Regions from separate parts of the Homo sapiens genome. Here region 2 is linked to region 1. Evidence: promoter capture Hi-C in 16 types of primary human blood cells and fetal thymus (Javierre and others, 2016). All regions are on one chromosome and are shown on one strand. Each heading gives the region's core, a stretch centred on a gene start or on the middle of the fragment in contact. The rest is flanking DNA. Distances are from core to core; before and after follow the strand shown.

Evidence for each region. The method cuts DNA at HindIII sites, captures the fragments that hold promoters and counts their contacts. A CHiCAGO score of 5 or more calls a contact.
Region 2: a contact is called between a fragment that was not itself captured here and the fragment with the promoter of FAM199X in region 1, in 1 of 17 cell types (neutrophils). The highest score is 5.4, in neutrophils.

What each region holds. Positions count from the first base shown.
Region 1 is chrX:104,164,633-104,167,855 of GRCh38, forward strand. It overlaps FAM199X (family with sequence similarity 199, X-linked), which reads left to right and starts at 1,821. Exons shown (of 6, transcript NM_207318.4): 1 at 1,821-2,350. The coding sequence starts at 2,154. RefSeq lists a silencer at 1,609-2,098 and an enhancer at 1,663-2,163. The HindIII fragment of the contact is 4,401 bases long and covers 1-2,814 here.
Region 2 is chrX:111,686,336-111,689,276 of GRCh38, forward strand. The region is part of intron 3 of ALG13 (ALG13 UDP-N-acetylglucosaminyltransferase subunit); the gene reads left to right. Among named protein-coding and RNA genes, the nearest start is that of ALG13, 6.6 kb to the left of the region's middle. The HindIII fragment of the contact is 3,634 bases long and covers 1-2,941 here.

The sequences.
Region 1 (3,223 bases), core at 571-3,070:
CACTTTAGGAGACTGAGTTGGGTCAATCACTTGAGGTCAGGAGTTCGAAACCAGCCTGGCAAACATGGCAAAACCCGTCTCTACTAAAAATACAAAAAATAGCCAGGTGTCGTGGCACATGCCTGTAATCCCAGCTACTCAGGAGGCTGAGGCAGGAGAATAGCTTGAACCCGGGAGGTGGGGGTTGCAGTTAGCCAAGATCGCCCCAATACACTCTAGCCTGAGCGACAGAGCAAGACTCTGTCTCAAAAAAATATAAAATAAAATAAAATAAAATAGACTATTTCGTTAGCTTCTTATTAACAGTTCCTGGTGCTATTACCTGAGTGCCTGCATTATCATGCAGCACTTGACTCTTGTTTCATTTGGATAATCAAGTCTCTTGTTTTTGGGGACTAAGCCATGGCCCATTCAGCCTCACTGGCCTCAGACCCCTGGGGATTGGTGCATTAGGGACCATAGAACAAACCATCATCAGCCTCACTTCCACAAGTTTTAAATTGGTCAGCCTCATTAGATATTAATGAATGATTCATTTTGAAAGCCACATACACAATGCAACACACCTTCTTGCAATCTCAATGAAAGAAAGCCGGCATGCTCAACAGTCAAACAACCAAGTAACTGAAGCAAGATAATGTATACATTTTAAAGGCACGTTGGAGAAGCTGTTTTCACTATAAGTTGCATTGGTAGGGCAAGGCACAGAGTTTAATACTGAATGGGGCTTGTTTTAGTGACAACCCCCCACTTCTCCTGCCCTCTTTCTCTTCTTCCTCCTGCCTTCTTTCATTTTTCCCCTCCTTTCCGCCTATTTAAGTTCTATGCTTTCCTGAAGGATCAATGTAGTTTCTTCATAAATATAGTTAATGCAAAGAATTGCTTTTATTGAAGAATTATGCTCTTATATGAAAATGTGCTTCCTTTTATAAAATAATATTAGGTAGTTTTAAAAATTGTCTTCTTTGGGCAAAGTAAGAAATTAGTAATCTTGGGGTTTCCTCTATTTTTTTTTAATCTTACGCATCCAAGAACAGGAATCACTTGCCCAGAATATAGAGAAGAGAGATGAGATAAACAGCAAAGTACACTATATAACACCTAACAAGTTGATTCAAGTTGAACAAGTTAAGCTCCATAATATATTTTCTACGGGAGGGAGGGGGCAAATTAGCAGGTGTGCCTTAGTCTCCTTTGGGAGTCAGGGAAGGCTTCACTGAGGAGATAACGTTTGAGCTGGAGTTTGAAGGATTAGCAGGGGAGAAATGGCAGGGCATTCCAAGCAGGGTGCCTATGAGCAAAAGGCGCAAAGCACAAAAGAGTACGACGTGTCCAGCAGCTCTGAGTAGGCGAGTGGCTGCAGCGTAGGGTTCTTGGAGTTAGGTGATCAAGGGTGAGGAAGGGACTATTTTCCCTGCTTGGACGATTTCTCCTACACCTCATTGCACGGTGCTGGGCACACACTGCAGGAGCTCAATAAATACTTGTTGAATTGGGACAGAATGAAAGAGTGCGCTGGGAACCAGGGCATCTGGATGTTTTCTCACGCACCCGCAGTGTGACCTTGGCCAAGTCCCTTTTCTGGGACTGCGGTTCCTGCTTAGTAGTCGAGTACGAGTGAGAAAGCGGAGGAGGAGGTTGGCCAGAGGCGCCTAGCCTTTCTAGCGGCCTGAATCCCTGATTCGATGCGTAGAGGGCGGGGCGGGCCGCTTGGGGCCGCGGCGGGCGGAGGTTCAGTTCCTCCTCCGGTCCAGCAGGGGGCACGGGGAGTGGCTTCCCGCCGCCCTTCCCCTCCTTGCGGGCGCCGGGCAGACTGCTGCAGTCGCAAGCGGCGAGCGCAGTGGGCGGGGCGGGCCTGGCCGGGCCGGGCGGCGGCGCTGCGCTGACGGGCTGAGTCTGGCGGCGGCGGAAGCTGCAGAGGCCACCGGGGCGCTAACTGGGTGGCCGGTGGGCCGCTGTGGCCTCGAGCAGCCTCTTCGCGCGGCCCCGCACCCCGGCAAGCAGCAGCGGGCCGCGACGCCCAGCCTGCCAGTGAGCTGCGACGGGCACACCCCGGAGCGTCGGCGACTGCGGACAGGTTAGAGTGGGGGCAGGGGCGGGCGCGGGAGCAGCCCAGGGCCAGAGAGGGAGCCCGAGCCAGGCCATCTCCAACCATGTCCGACGAGGCCTCGGCCATCACTTCCTACGAGAAGTTTCTAACCCCCGAGGAGCCCTTCCCACTCCTGGGACCTCCTCGCGGGGTGGGCACCTGCCCGAGCGAGGAGCCGGGCTGCCTGGACATCAGCGACTTCGGCTGCCAGCTGTCCTCCTGCCATCGCACCGACCCGCTCCACCGCTTCCACACCAACAGGTACGAACTGCACCTGAGGGCAGGGGTGGATTTTCCACTTCTGGTCGCCCCCCGCTCCTGATCCTTCGTCCCGGGCTGCGCTTCCAGTCGCCCCCTCCCCCACCTGCTTTCGACCAGCGCTCATTCCCGGCCTCCTTCCCTGCCCCCCCTCCCTATTTTCACCCCTGCCCTCCTATTTTCCTTTCGACCGGCGTTTTACTCTCTTTTCCTCATTCATATTCTGGCTATAGCGACTCCTCCCTTCCCTACCTTCTCCCTCCCTTGCTTCCCTTCCCTCCCCCCATCTGTACCCTACGAATCCCAAACCCCCACCCTTGATTTTTAGATACGCCCCTGTTTGCATCCATCTGCAAAAGTTTAACCCCTTCCATTTCCGGTACGCTGTAGAGGAATTTGGATGGCTCAAGATCAATCCATAGATCTTTTGAAAAGTGGCGTTGAAAGGTGGAACATTTAAAGCTAGAAGCTTCATTTTCCCTATTTTTAATCTGTCTCACAGTCCTGTTCCCCCCGCCGCCACCACCCCTACCCCATTTTTTTTTTTAGTTGAGCGCTAGGAAACTAGTCGATTCTCTCTTTTTTTCCTCCTCCTTTATTAACTGTTTGCCTTAGCGCTTTAGGCTCTGCCAAAATTGGTAAGCTTAAATCTGGAGGATTCCTTCATATGACATATCCCTTGGTTTCCTTCCCCTTTGAAGAGACAGAGTAAGGCTTAGGATGGACTGACTTACACAAATTTATTCAGAGGGTGTATCTCCTCCTAACTGATTTCAGTAGAAGGTAGTGTTCTGGAGACTTCTCTCATGCAAGCATTTACGTGTTAGATCAAATCTTGGGGGGTGGGTTGAAGACGTTCTAGATACAGCCTCAAGT
Region 2 (2,941 bases), core at 389-2,888, 7.5 Mb after region 1:
GGAGCATAATTTTTCTTTTAGTTTTACTGCTTCTGTCTCTTAGGCACTCAGTAAATACTTATTCATTCATTAAATATTTATTGAGTACCTTCTATGTGCCAGGCATTGTTCTAGGCACTTGGTATACATCAGTGAACAAAACAAAGACTCCTGTTCTTAACTGAGAGGAGGCAGATTCATTGATTATTTCAGGAGTGAAATTGTTGGTGTCCTTATCACTATAATGTTGGAGAAGAGGGAATGTCAGGGTGGCTGTGTAACATAGAAGCCAGTCTTGAACTATTTAGTGAGTCAGGAGAGAAGCTAGATTAAAGAGGAATAAACTTATCTTCCTAACTGCTTTATGCAAGTCAATTTTTTCCAGATACTTTTAATTAGTATTTTCATTCTAAATGTTAAATCAGCTTTGATTTTGTGTTAGTACATTAAAAGGAAAACACTGATTTCATAAACATATCCTGACTTTTTACTCATGCTGAAAAGGAAGGAAACTGTACAAGTCTCCAATTTATTTTATTTTTATTTTTTTACAGTTTTAAATGTCTTTTTTTCTATATTAATTTCAAGAAAGTCACATAAAAGCAGTAAGCAGTGAGAAAGAATCAGTAATTGATTGGTTATATTTTCTTTTCTTTTTTTGAGACGGAGTTTCGCTCTTGTTGCCCAGGCTGGAGTGCAATGGTGCGATCTCGGCTCACCTCAACCTCCACCTCCCAGGTTCAAGCAATTCTCCCGAATAGCTGGGATTACAGGCATGCACCACCATGCCTGGCCTAATTTTGTATATTTAGTAGAGACGGGGTTTCTCCATGTTGGTCAGGCTGATCTCAAACTCCTGACCTTAGGTGATCCGCCTGCCTTGGCCTCCCAAAGTGCTGGGATTACAGGCATGAGCCACCACACCCAGCCAATAATTGGTTATATTTTCATTTTAGGTAAATCATTTATTTTCCCCAGACCTAGGCTGGGGGGTAGTATGTTTGTTCTAATTTAAGCGATTGGTTTAAATAAATTTCCGATGTAATGGTTCTATGTTTAAAACCTTATTTCCAGCATACATGGTGGTGTGGTATATTGTTTAATTGTATATGAAGTTATGATAGTAAATTACTGGCAAAGATTATTTCACAGTCTTCATGCATGGTCTAGTAGTTTCCCCAGCTTATTATCTTGTCTGGCAGCTATTACTTTTGGTTTCAATTTTTAAATTCTGTTTTCATGAATGAATTGTGCTTCAGTTTAAATATGCCCAGTCCTGAGAAGTATTACAAAGCCATGTGAAGACATTTTTCATGAAATATCATTTCTGAAATATATCAGTTGACATAGGAGATAAGGTATCTGCTGAATTTATATTGACATTTTATAGTACTCTTTGTATTGCTTTAATAATCCTAGTATGTATACTTATTAAAATATATAAAAATTCACATGTGCAGTTTTTAGAAGTACCACTATATTCTTGGAAGTTAGATTCAGTCATCAGTGGGCAGCAGATGAAGTATGGAATTTTCTCCCATGTTACCTAATATTTTTCTTCTTTTGTTTTAGCACGCTTCCTGGGCTGTTACAGTCAATGGACTTATCAACACTGAAATGTTATCCTCCTGGCCAGCCAGAAAAATTTTCTGCATTTTTGGATAAAGTTGTTGGATTACAAAAATAAACACTAAACTCTCAACACTTTAAAAGCAACCCCCAAATTCAACCTATGTAATGTGATTAAATCAAATTAAATACATAATATATATTTACAAAATAATATAATTAATAAACTTCCTACATCTATAGAATGTATAGGAAATTTTATGTTGTGCACATTTGCATTGGGTCCAAATCCTAATTGCAGTTTAGTGAAATTACTAGATTTTTTTCTAATCTTCAGTATGTAGTGAGCATTCACAGGTTTTCTCCTAGAATCTCAAGTGGAATTGGAATCATAAAAATGAATGAGATTTGAAAACTTTCACAAAGATTATAAATGTAGTTAGTTTGATACTCCTTAGAATAAAAAAATGAAACAGTAACAACTTTTATGTAAAAAAATTTTACATAAGAGTTAGCATCTTTAGCTTTATAATCTAAGGAACCAAATTTAAAAAATGATGGATTATGCTCTGTGAAATGAAAAGTTCAATCATTGCCTAAAAAAGATGATCAAGTTAGTTGATCTCTTGTACTTGGAAAAGCTACTTTTTTCCTAAAGAACAGAGTGGAGTGGATATATTCACTTTTTTTTTCTAAAACATACAAAGTGATAAAATAATCGTGCCTAATGTCAAAACTTTACTGGTTTGAGAAGAATAATCAAAAAGGACTTATACCAATAGGACTTACTATTGTTTTTTAAGGATCTCCTCTCACAGTGGTAATGAAACATTAACTGTAACAGAAATTTACAATTTATGTGCTTATAAAATTAGTTTTATGAATGAACAATAAACTGATGCATATAATGGCTTAAATATATGGTTTTAAAATTGACTTAACTTGAGCAAGATACATTATGAAGTTCTTTCTGATTAGAGTGTGTGGTCTCAAGACCTTTACAGTAGATTATCCTTAAGTGTCCATAGCTCTCTGGTACAATGTTTAGATATAGTTTATCTATCAAAATAGAACATTCACTATAAAGACCTCTCTTCCATTCCAATCATATTATCCCAACATGCTAAATGTTCCAAACATTTTATTTGGAATGCATTTTATCATGTTTTTATAGGTTTATTTTTCTGATTGTGTTTTATTTAGGCTAATATTAAAAAAATGCTTACTAGTGGTAGAAGGTGGTGACAAAGAAATACTCTGGGTAGCAGGAGGAAGCCAACTTGGATTAAAATTTTGCTGAGAATAATCTAAAAAGTGAGTAATCTGGTTGAGAATTCACAGCACCATAATCATAATTGTATATCAATGTTATGTTTTAGGAAAGGTCCTATTC